Linked DNA regions of Homo sapiens: region 1 is linked to region 2. The links are contacts of gene promoters, found by promoter capture Hi-C in human tissues and cell types (Jung and others, 2019). All regions are on one chromosome and are shown on one strand. The core of a region is centred on a gene start or on the middle of the fragment in contact, and the rest is flanking DNA. Distances in the headings are between cores, read along the strand shown. Region 1 overlaps SPON1 (spondin 1). Region 2 holds the start of BTBD10 (BTB domain containing 10).

Region 1 (5,858 bases), core at 1,139-3,638, 760 kb before region 2:
AGCAGAGACCAGGAGGACAGATGCTAGTTAATGGCTGGGCATTAGGAGGCTCACAGGATCACGGTTCTAATGAGAGGTGAGGAGGTGATGAGAATGAGGTGGAGCCTGACCTTTCCTCTTGCCCTGCATCATGTGGGGTGTGGAAGAACAAATGCCCTTCGCTTGTGAAGATGGGGGGAGCAGAGAACCCCCCATTGATAAGAAGGAGATGGAGGGAGAGCTGGGTGTGGGGCTGAGGATGAAGAAGAGATTTGGAGGACATATTAGGGCCACCTAGACATTTCCTATTACCTAAAAACGTCGGATGAGTCACTTAGAGTGGAAATCTGGCTTTCGCCGTGGCAGCTGTCTTGCTTTATATGACTGTGTATCCCATTCATCACACTGTATTATAATGTTTTAAAAATGTGTTTATGTTCTAAGTCCAAATTCCAGGTGTAGTAGAAATAGCCTAGGCCTTGAATTAAGACAGGCCTAGGTTTGAGTTCTGACTCCTTCCCTTTCTAGGCCTTGGACAAGTCATTTTACCTGTCTGAACCTCAGTTTCTTCATGTATAAAATGGGTATAACAACTCTACCTACCTTCTGAATTCTCGAGAAGAATAAAACAGATATTGTCTGAAATCTCCCATTATAATGTCTGAGATACAGCAGGTTCTCAATAAGCCTTGACCCTCTCTCCTTGACTAAGTCATCTTTGTCTCTCCATGATCTATCACCATTCATGGTTTCAGGAGGATGCACAAAATATGTTGGTTGAATAAATGAATGGGCTGGTTGAATGAATGAACGAGTAAGTGAATAAATGAATAAATTAATGAGTAGAAATGTTCAGAACGACATGCTGAGGAAACCAAATGCACTCTGTCATGCCTGAAAGGACTTCCCTTGGAATTCTTTGAGGCATTTAGCTCAGGCTGGGTCCTCTGTCCCATTTCAAGGTCAGGGCCATTCCTTTGTCCTGACCCTGGCATAATAAGCCATGAAAAGCTTGCCACTTTGTTCCTATTTTAATCCTTCTGTTCAGTTAATGGGCTATATTTTTCCTGGAAACAGTGGTGTGACCATCACCAAGATAATGGGTAATAACATTAACATTACCACCAGTATGATCCAGATATTATTCAATTAAACTAATAACTCCTAATGCAGAAGAAATTGTTTTTCTCCTAAGAATCCAATTCAGCCATCAGCTCACCCTCATATTTAAATGACAGAAATTACCTGTAAGTCATAGATCTGTAATGTGATGTTGAAATGGATTTCTAATTATATTTTATGATGCTATATTAGAGATGCTTTTAAGGTCAGAGTTTATAGCTTGTCATGTTTTCATTTTCTATTATCAGGCAATTTGAATTTCTTTTCAAATATATAATGAACAAAAATTAGAAAATTTGGGAGGAAAAACCACTTCAAAGGATTGCCCAAAACAGCCTAACAATGTCACCTTAGTAAGAATTTTTTTAAAAAAGGCTGTGATTATCAGTCAACTTTAACGCTGGTCTTCTGAAGACAGAGATAGGGAAGAAAAATCACCTTCTCACAGTTGAATTCAAGAGTTTTGTTACCTAGGATGTTTACTGAACCATGTCCGGAGTGTGGTCCTATTATTTCCTGGTCCAGATCTTGAATTTGATGGTATGTGCAGAAGGGTTCAACCAGAGGAACTGGCTCACACTACCCAAACTTTCAAGATGTAGAAGACATGCCCAACAGTGAGAAACAGGAATGCCAAGTGGACTTTATGTAAACTTATGGGCGTGGGGCAACACAGCCTCCATATGTAGGAAAGTTTTTTTTTTTTTTTTTTTTGATCCAAGTGCTCACTCTGTTGCCCAGGCTGGAGTGCAGTGGTACAATCTCGGCTCACCGCAACCTCCACCTCTTGGGCTCAAGCAATCCTCCCACCTCAGCCTCCTGAGTAGCTGGGACTTCAGATGCACACCATCACGCCCAGCTAATTTTTGTACTTTTTGTAGAGATGGGGTTTCACCATGTTGCCTGGGTTGGAGGAAAGTCTTCATGATAAGCCATAATCTTAATGGAATATTGCCTGGGAAGCACAGAGTTGAAGCAAAGGTATTTAGCTGAATGGTTTTTATGGACATCATGGAGCTATCTAAGTCAAATGCATTTACCTCCCATTATGGGAATAGATCTGGCTTGCAGATAAACACATCATGTCATCTGGTCATGCTATCTTCTTGGACTGCACAGAAGACCCCGACAAACTCCTGTCTTTCTAGAGGTCATGCAGACCACCCTCTCCTAGTTAGATCTTTCTTCAAGCAGGCTACAATATGACCCAAATAGGTGGCAGTTTTATGACAAACATTCAACTTTAGAGGATTCATACCAGTTGTGATTGGAATTTGGCCATCATCCACTTAAAATCCAGATCTCAGGGTCACTTCTGTATGTGGTTTAACTCATATCATCTGCATCGATTTTTCCCCTCAACTCTTAGAGGGTACCTGCTCTCCTCATTATGGGGGCCTTTCACCATAACCCACTACATACTGTCTACACTTTGATTTAAAGAGAGACTGAAACTAGGATAACTTTTTCCTTATAGTTTGAATTTAATTGTCAAAGTTTTCCAGCAAAGGATGAATTCCCTGCTGCTTTTCAATAAAATTGAATGTGACTGCAGCAGGTAGGAACATTGCAATGAGAAGAAATAGGAAGGCTCCATAAATTAATGTGTGAAAGAAGAAATCTATATTCATTCTGGTTCTTCTAAGTGGGTTAGATGAATGGCTGACAGCATAGGTGGCAGTGGGTGGGGGACAAAGTGGTGAGCAGGATGGCTTTCTACACCCACCTAGCATGAAAAGACATGGAAGGCAGGAATAATAAATTCAAAGAGAGCTCCAGAGCAGGGCCAAATTCTTCCTCAGCTAAGTCCGTGCTCCATTCCCATCTATCCTACTGAGTGCTTTGTTATTTTTCTGCAGCCCAGAGCAGAATTCAGTCCTTCACTGTTCAGAATTCACGAAACAGAAAGGTTATTGTATCCAAATTGTCAACAGACAGAGCTAATTTCAACCTCGCCAGCAACTGGGAAAACAAATTATGACAGAGAAAAGAAATGGATATTTGCAGTTTGCTTTTCTAGGCTGTTCCTAATGTGGGTCTGATCTGCCATGAGACTGTCACACAGCTTTCCTTGTGGCACAGAACTGATCCTATGGATGAATGAAGACATGGCTCAGATAACATTTCATGGGTCTCTAGGCAATCCCGTTGCCTACTTGTCACCATGACTAGAAATATACTGGCTGCTAGGGTATGCCTAACACCTGAATGCTCCAGGAACAAATGTCCCTCTGATTTGGGGCTGACACTTCATTCATTCACCACTCATTTATTAGGTGTCTATTAAGTGTACTGGGTGCTGGGGACACAGAAATCATTAGGATGTTGTTCCTGCCCTCAGGGAGATCATATTTTATCAGGGGGACCAATGGGAACACATAATGGCAAGTCAGGGAGATACTGACTCCAGGTGCTGGAGCTGCATTCAGGAGGAGCTATTCATTCTTTCTGGAGTGGCTGAGTTCTCACCAGGTATTTCATAAACTGCTTGACACAGACAGGATGCAGACCCGCTAGGGGAGGAAGAGAGGACTCGGGAGGGAGAAGGAGGTATGATATTTGGGTTTTCCAGGTCGCCTATCTCCTTGTAAGGAATGGTCACAGATATGACTAAGGTGGGAAAAATCTAGGGCTGTCATCAAACAAAATAGAAGAGGACATATCTATATTTGTTTCAGCACAAATTATTAGCTGTAGTGTAATATGAATATGATAATCATACATTCAATTTCTTGGACACTCAGAACAGTGGTTTGCAAACTTTAGTGTGTATCAGAATCACCAGGAGGGCTTATAAAACAGACGGCTGAGCCCTACCCCCAGGGTTTCTGATTCAGTAGGTGTAGGCTGGGGCCTGATAAAGAATTTGCAGTTCTAACAAGTCCCCAAGGGAGAACCATTGACCTAGACAGTGTCTGCCACATAGTAAGGGTTCAATAAATAGTAGTTACAAATACTATTAGGCACTGTGCTTGGCACTTCACATAAATTAGCTAACTATCCTTATAATAGCAGTATATTACAGGAATTGTTATTATTTTTATTTTATACATGAAAAAATGGAGACTCAGAGATCTCAATATTTTGCCTAAGATCACAGAGCTAATAAGTGGCACAAATTATATTTAAACACAAGTCTTTTTGAGTAAAAAAAAAAAATCCATGTTTTTTCTGACATACTGTCTTCAATAAAAGTGTTTTTTCTTTCTTTTTAATACAGAAGCTACAAGATTCAACAATAAATAAGTGAAGTCTACAGTCATAATACCCTTATTCCATTTCAAATATTTCTGCAAATATATTATTAAAATTATCCCTCAAGAGCCAGTGGAAAGGCCATTTGTTTCTTGAAGATATTTGTAAAAATATATGAGAGAGCAAGAGCTGGCTGTGCACTGAGTTCTAGAAGCCTCCTAAGCTAATAGCTATCAATCTTTTTTTTTCTTTACGTAATAGAACACATTTTGTTAAACAAAAGTATACTCAGAACTCCAATATATAAAGCAGACAGGAATAGGGCTACTTTTAGATCTAAGAAACAAATGTTGGTGCTGGCTGAAACAACCGAACTGTGAGCACTTGCAGGCAGAAACAGAGAGCTCTCCCCACGGAAGCATTAGCTCTGATACAAGCAAGACAACCATCTGATCTGCTTTGGAGTGGGATGAAAAATGGATCACTGAGTTTCTCTGAACCAGGAATAAGGCAGAAGAAAGTCCAGCAAACACCTATGACGCACGCCACCTTCTCCTAGGGAATGGCTTCACCAGTATCCTACTGAGATGGCATTGTTTGGTTAGATCAGGCTGATGCTGTTGCTATATCTGCCTCATAGTAATGCTTTTAACACAATAGTTATGCTGCTTTATATTTATGATTGCTAAACCATTTAGTCAACTATTTAGCTCATTCTTTATCAACTAATTCTTTTGTGGTCTTTGTGAAGTTCAGAGTAAATGTTATGGTTTGAATGTGTTCCCCCAAAATTCATGTGTTGGAAACTTAATTTCCAATGCAACCTTGTTGGGAGGTGGGGTCCAATAACAGGTAATTTGGGTTGTGAATGGATTAATGTTGTTATTGTAGGAGTGGGCTAGTTATTTGAAGAGTGGGTTGTTGTAGAGTAAGTTCAGCCCCTGGTGCCTCTATGTTTCATGTAATCAATCACTTCTGCCTTCTGCCTTCTGCCATGGGATGACCTTCCTCAGATACTGGCACCATGCTCTTGGTATTCCCAGCCTCCAGAACTATGAAGCTAACTGTGGTATTCTGTTATAGAAACAAAAAACAGACTAAGACAATAAGAAACCTCATTAGCTATTTCTAAGGAGTACCCTACCAAGTGAACCCAACTGATCATTTCCATTACCATCCAGTGAGAGATTCAAATAGGCAGCTACTCCTCATGGGGGGAGGCATCTGCACATTGTTTGCTTCTGTTTTGTGAATAGCCCAATACTTAAAGATCTGTTCAGAGCACCCTATGATTTACCACCCAGCCCCAGATGTGAAAACCCTTTGCAGGTACAGGGTTGATTCATAAACCACCACAGATGCCAACTTCATTGTCTAGAGTTGAATCTCCTCCAACACTACCTATTTCTTTTGTAGCATGGGGTTCAGAGGCTTCCTGTATGTGCATCTTTCCAAAGATATTAAGAGGAGAAAAAGATCCAAGTGAATTTCCAATTTTCTCCAACACTTCAAACTATACATTTGATATTCTTAACCACCTTGATGAACAATTGTCCTCAATA
Region 2 (5,782 bases), core at 739-3,238:
TTGATGTGAAATTATGCTTAACAGAACACCCAATTGGCCTATGGCAGGTGCATTAGTCCATTCTTGCACTGCTATAAAACAAAGAGGTTTAACTGGCTCACGGCTCCGCAGGCTGTACAGGAAGTCCGACGGCTTCTGCTGGGCTTCTGGGGAGGCCTCAGGAAGCTTACAATCATGGCAGAAAGCCAAGGTACAGCAGGCACGTCTTATATGGTGGGAGGAGTGGGGCGGGGGTGGGGGGGCGCCACACACTTTTAAAGAACAGATTTCACCAGAACTCACTATCACCAGAATGGCAAAAACAGGGAAATCTGCCCCCATGATCCAACGACCTCCAACACTGGGGATTACAATTCCACATGAGAGGTCAGGTGGGGACATAGATCCAAACCGTATCAGCAGGGTTAGAATAACTTTTTTGTTTTCCTCCTAAGTGTTGGGCTTATTCGTAGGGAGAGTATGGTAAGCCAAATAAAACTATAGTATACATAGTATTTTTCATATAGTATACATATTTTTATATGTAATATGAAAATAATGTGTCCAAAGGAAGGTGAGTGGAAACTACAGCAAAATACCAGAGTCTTTCTTTAGAAAAGGACAGCTTCTATTTTGATGTAAGAGTATGGCTCCTCATTAGCCCTAACTTGGACTACAGAATGACTTCTTCTGAGCAGAGCTTATAGGAGAAAATTTTGATAATAAATCAGGACTGATGACGTTTTTGTTTTTTGCCTGAGAATTTTCTCAGAGTTTCTCTGAGAAACTGTATCACAAAATTCCTATTAGATTGCTCTTATGTAGACAACTTGAAATTATTGGCAATTTCCAATTTAGCAAAATGTTGGCTATAATAACTTAGTGAATTACGACAATAACCCGTTTCTCTTAGGTTTCTGATATTTAAGTGTCCTTACAGGAGAAAGATGAAGTTATCTTATAATTGTCCAGCTCAACTGCTCATCTTCTTAGCATAAACACTGATTTGGAAAATACTTTGCGTATCACACGTAGGAGCCTGGGAATGTTCTCATCCGAACTAAACAGTGGTTAAAGGTTTTTCAACAAAGTTCTTGCTGCAATATCTGTTTTCATACCCAATTACTCAAACCAGGTCCTCTTCCTCTTTGCTTCCTCTCCTTGCAATGCCCTTCCCTCTCTTCCCTAAACTGGAGAACTTACTTATGCTTAAGATTCAGCGCAATTGTCACTCCCAGGTGAAGGCTTTCTCAACAAGGCCTCCCCGTCTGCTCCCAGAGCTCATGGCAAGCAGCTCGGCTTTTATCAGAGAATAATGGGATTATCTATTTTCCTGTAGGTCTTGCCCCGGGGGTGTAAGCTTCGAAGGCGGAGACTGTGTCTTTTACATTTTTTCCCGTTTTTATTGCCCAGCCAGCCCATGTAGGTGACTCTCGGTGTTTCCTAGGCGGCCAAACTGAAGGAGTTTCAGCTGGCACAGGGGTTCCCGCCAACCGAGCGTTTAAAAATAAGCAGCGGGGGACGTTAGGGAACAGAGGGTGTCCCTCACGACGACCGACTCTCATCAGGTCCACGCCGGCAGAAGCGATTTTGCAGTTTGCTTTGATGAGGAAAACGCTCTCCCTGAAGAGTCCCTGCACTATTTCTCCAACTCTGTGACCGAGACGCTGTCCACTTTTCTCTAACGGTGACAGGAAGTCAAGGGGAAAACGTGGGATTCAAAGGTTTGAAGGTAACAGCCCTCAGCCACTCGGGCTCGAGGCCCGCGGTTGACCCGAGCTGATGTCTGTGAGGAGAGGTCGCGCGGCGCCTTCCTCTCCACGCGCCTGAGATCCCACCCGTGGCCGCCGCGCCCTCAACTGCCTTCTCCTTCGGTGCCCCGCCCACCCCTGGGCGGAGAGCACCGTTCTCGCGAGAACGCTGCTGGCCTCGCCTCTTCGCATTGTGAGCTCTCGCGGTAAGAGGCTGAGGAGCCGGCCTGCAACCTGCCGGGGCGGCTCCGCTACGCGCAGCCGCCTCAGTGGCTTCCTCCACAGCCACCTCCGGAGGGATCTGGCTGAGGAGGAAGTGGAGGTGTCACTGGCCCCGGCCTTTGCCCCAATCTTGTGTGGGCACTGAAGGGGGACTACAGGTTCGAGAGTGAGTGGACTCAGCTGGGGAACTCGGCGGGGGCGGCGCGGGAGGCTGGGCTTGGCCGGGGCGAAAGAGGAAAGGGGCGGAGGGCGAATCTGGGCGTGAGAGCCAGGCTGCTGCGGCGGTGGTCTGGGCGGCCGGACCCTGCTCGGGTACCGTGGGTGGCGTTTTGGGCTCCGGCCACGAGCACCCAATTAGGAGAGGCCGGGATAAGACTTGAGTTTTGCGGCTGCTGCTTTTGGGTTGGGAGTCCGGGGGCCTTTCTCCGGGGATGAAGGCGATACCCTCATCCCTTTCCAGGGCAGAGGAACCCCGTGCCCCGCCCCTTTCCTGTCATCTCAGACGAACGCAGCGACATCCTGAGGAAGGCGCATCACAATAGGGGATAAGGTGGTGGGCAGCCTCCCTCTGGGTGAAGAGGAGTGAGACCCCACTAACGTGCTGCGTGGTTTTATGTTGTAACCATTTTACGTGTGGTAAAGCTTTGTTTTCTTAAAACTTGCACGGAAAAGGTTCTGATGTCTTTCTTCTTCAGATGCAGGTGCCCTGACACCCTTATCTTTGGGAATGGGGCGGGGGAAGGTGAGACATCGGTTAGTAATTTGTTAGTGTGGGCCAGTGTGACTGTCCCTGGGCCTCACAGATTTCCTGCTTCTCCTTTCTCAGTATTCTGAGTCCATGATGAAAAGTCACTAGTCCAGACATGCTGAAAGATAGAGCTTCACTTGCTTGTGGCTTTGTGCACTTAGTAAACAAGATTATTTTACGAAGATTTATTATCTTGCAGAGTTTTCATGCTTTTTATTTAAATTAGCAATCTAAATGAAACAGCACAGGATATTAATTGTATTTGGACAACTGAGTTCCTTCCCGCCCCTATCCTCCCAACCCCCCAACTACACAAATTTGATCAAAATCTTTTAGAGAGGGGGTTAGGGATAAATTTTCAATGAAAGAGACTGTGGAAATCGGAATAAGAGATATAATAAAGAATGCAGCCATAACGGCCAAAAGAGTTTCTGTATTAGAGAGCCTGTCCAGGATTGAAGTTCAGTCCTGAAACCCAGGACTGCAGTTGTCATTTGAATATAAAGCGGAAAGCAGTAGAAAATACTTGGGAAGGGATTTGAAAGTGGACCAAGACTGGTAAAAAAAAAAAAAAAAAAAGTGTGAGAAGAATTATTTCTGATGATGTAAATGTGTTTTATAAATTTTCCCAATATTTCTCAGCGTGTATGACCTAACAGCTATTATATTAATACATACAAAGTAGGAAGGAAGTTTCTGAAGCATGGAATGTGGTAAGGAACCACCAGAGAGTAACAGTGTTCAATCAGGAAAGCTTTTAGTGTTTCAACAATGTTTTTGTGTTCGTTCACCTTTTTTCTCACTCCCAGAAAAGCTTTCAGATAGACTTCTAACCCTATGTAATTATGTTACCCTTCCACCAGTCTGAATTTTCTTCTTTCTCACTCCCTCTAAGCCATGTGAATTTTTTAAATTATTAACTATGGAGTTGCAAACCACTGTGGTCTGCTTTTGGCTTTTTATAATAGGTGACTTAGGGAAGTATGGAAGTGATATGGAAAATATTGTGCACCTTTCAAAGCCATAGCATGAGCAACAAACTCACATGCCTTCGGGTACTAGTTAGATAATGAAAATGAGGGAAATGCACTATGCCTTATCAGAGAGACATCCAAGTCTCAGGTCCCCCTAATCAGTGCTATATAAGAATATGGACCCCATCTTCAGCATTCTCAAGAGAACTCGGAAATCTAGATTTTTGCATTCAGTGTCTTGCGTCTTAAAAATATTGACAACTAATTAAAACCATTAAAAATATCATGTGACTGAATCAAATCCAAACCTGTCCATAGTTGTATTCTCCTCTCCAGTTTAGAAGCTCTGTTATAAATCAAAATTAATAAATTTTATGACTGGAAAAAAAGGAGGTTTAAAGCAAGTTTGGAGTTTCAAACTTAAGGGGTCTTGGGAAAAATGTCACATCTAATTGAAAACAGTAGTTAAGTTTAATAGCCTTTAAGTATAGTTATAGTAGGGCAATTTGAACTGGTATTTACTATAAACGTTTTAACTGTGGAAATAACTGAAGAAAAAGCATCTCAGTATTTATGGTTTAAAAACTCAGAGTTCTGAGCAAAGCTGATTTATAGGTATCTTGTACAGAAATTGAATTATTTAGAAGCTCTTTATTGTATTTGCAGCTAATATATAAAATTAAATACAAGAGACCCTCTACAGTCCATTTCAGGATTTGAATGTTTATTGTTTGCTGTGCTATCCCACATTGTCTTCCTAGGCATTGACTTACTGGAAGAAATACTGATCCCTTGGATTTTATTCCATGCCAGATGGAGATTGGAGGGGTTTGGCAACAGGATGGAAAGAACTGGGTGGAGAAAGTGTGATGTGAAGCAAACACTCTTGTGCCCCTTCCTTACATTGTTCATTAAAAGATTGATTTGTGTTAGTTTTTCTTGTAAGAAGGATAGGTATATTAATTGATTAAACTTAGTGCCTTATACATAGTAGAGTTTAATGACGTGTGGAATTGACCTTTGTGGATTAAGCCTCATTTACCCATTAATGTGAAGTAATTTAATCACATAATCTGATTCATACCTAGTTGGGTTATGGGGAATGGGAGTGCTAGAGGTCAAAGCTAAGTAAGAGGTGTTTTTTAGGCATATAGAGGGCAAGTTGGGGGTCTTCACTTGGGATAAGGGTGAGAGAGGAAGTTAGGTAAGGGAGAGAATTTTGAAAAGGAAGATGAAATGATTAAGTACCCATTTGTGTATTGTGCAGTTTTAAAAAGAGGTCTGCCTTTTGTGGCTAAATTTATCATAACTTGTGCAGAGACTACATAGAATACTGGTTTTTAATCAGGACTGCTATGGGAATTTGCAGATTTTCTTTTCTTCATTTTAGCTCAGTCATCTCAGGCCAAGCTAGGCTAATATCTGTTCATTCAATCTCTGCCTCTCTCTGAAATAGGAAATGAAAGAAGAGGAGATATGTATTATGTTTGTGAGGTGCTCCTGTTGAAGAGTTATAAGACTACTTCTGAGGAATTTGTTTTATATTTGAGAAGATTGTGCTTGTTGAAGGGGGAACCATTATTTTCGTCTTTACTTGTTTCTACCATGACTCATAAAGTAGGAAGTTCTTTTTTGGAAATAGCTTTCCGCTTCTTCCCATCCCCTGAGTTGCCATCCCAAAGGAGGATCAGGGGAGGCTAAGGGAAGGGATTGAGTATACTTTTGTTCAGTGCCTTATGATTCAATTTTTGGGACTCTCAATTCTTAGGCTATACATTGTCTATTCATTTGTATGGTAGGCTTATCTGAGCAGGCTGGACTACTAATACTATGAGGGAGAAGGAAATGGAATGCCTACAGTTCTAACTGGGTAAGTTTAATTTGCAGTTGAAGTAATAAGGGTTTTTGCACGTTGGATTTAGTTATATTTTTACCATCATCTGTTTGGATCCTTTATTTTTTGTTGATTCTGAACCGAAAGTAAGGCGGGTCAGGAAGATACAGATGTTACCTTCTCCTGTTAATGGAGAAAGAACTATTAAAATTTTTCTCCCTTTTTAATAGATTCTTCATCAGGGTTCAAGCCAATGTTGCATTTCCCCTAGTGT

Evidence for each region. Contacts are between HindIII fragments. The study calls those that stand out against the background at their distance.
Region 1: a fragment that was not itself captured here is called in contact with the fragment with the promoter of BTBD10 in region 2 in 1 of the 25 tissues and cell types used here (lymphoblastoid cells).

Annotation. Positions count from the first base shown.
Region 1 is chr11:14,216,044-14,221,901 of GRCh38, reverse strand. The region is part of intron 6 of SPON1 (spondin 1); the gene reads right to left. Among named protein-coding and RNA genes, the nearest start is that of RRAS2, 140 kb to the left of the region's middle. The HindIII fragment of the contact is 4,017 bases long and covers 380-4,396 here.
Region 2 is chr11:13,459,428-13,465,209 of GRCh38, reverse strand. BTBD10 (BTB domain containing 10) reads left to right here and starts at 1,988. Exons shown (of 9, transcript NM_032320.7): 1 at 1,988-2,118. RefSeq lists an enhancer at 1,619-1,808. The HindIII fragment of the contact is 2,272 bases long and covers 753-3,024 here.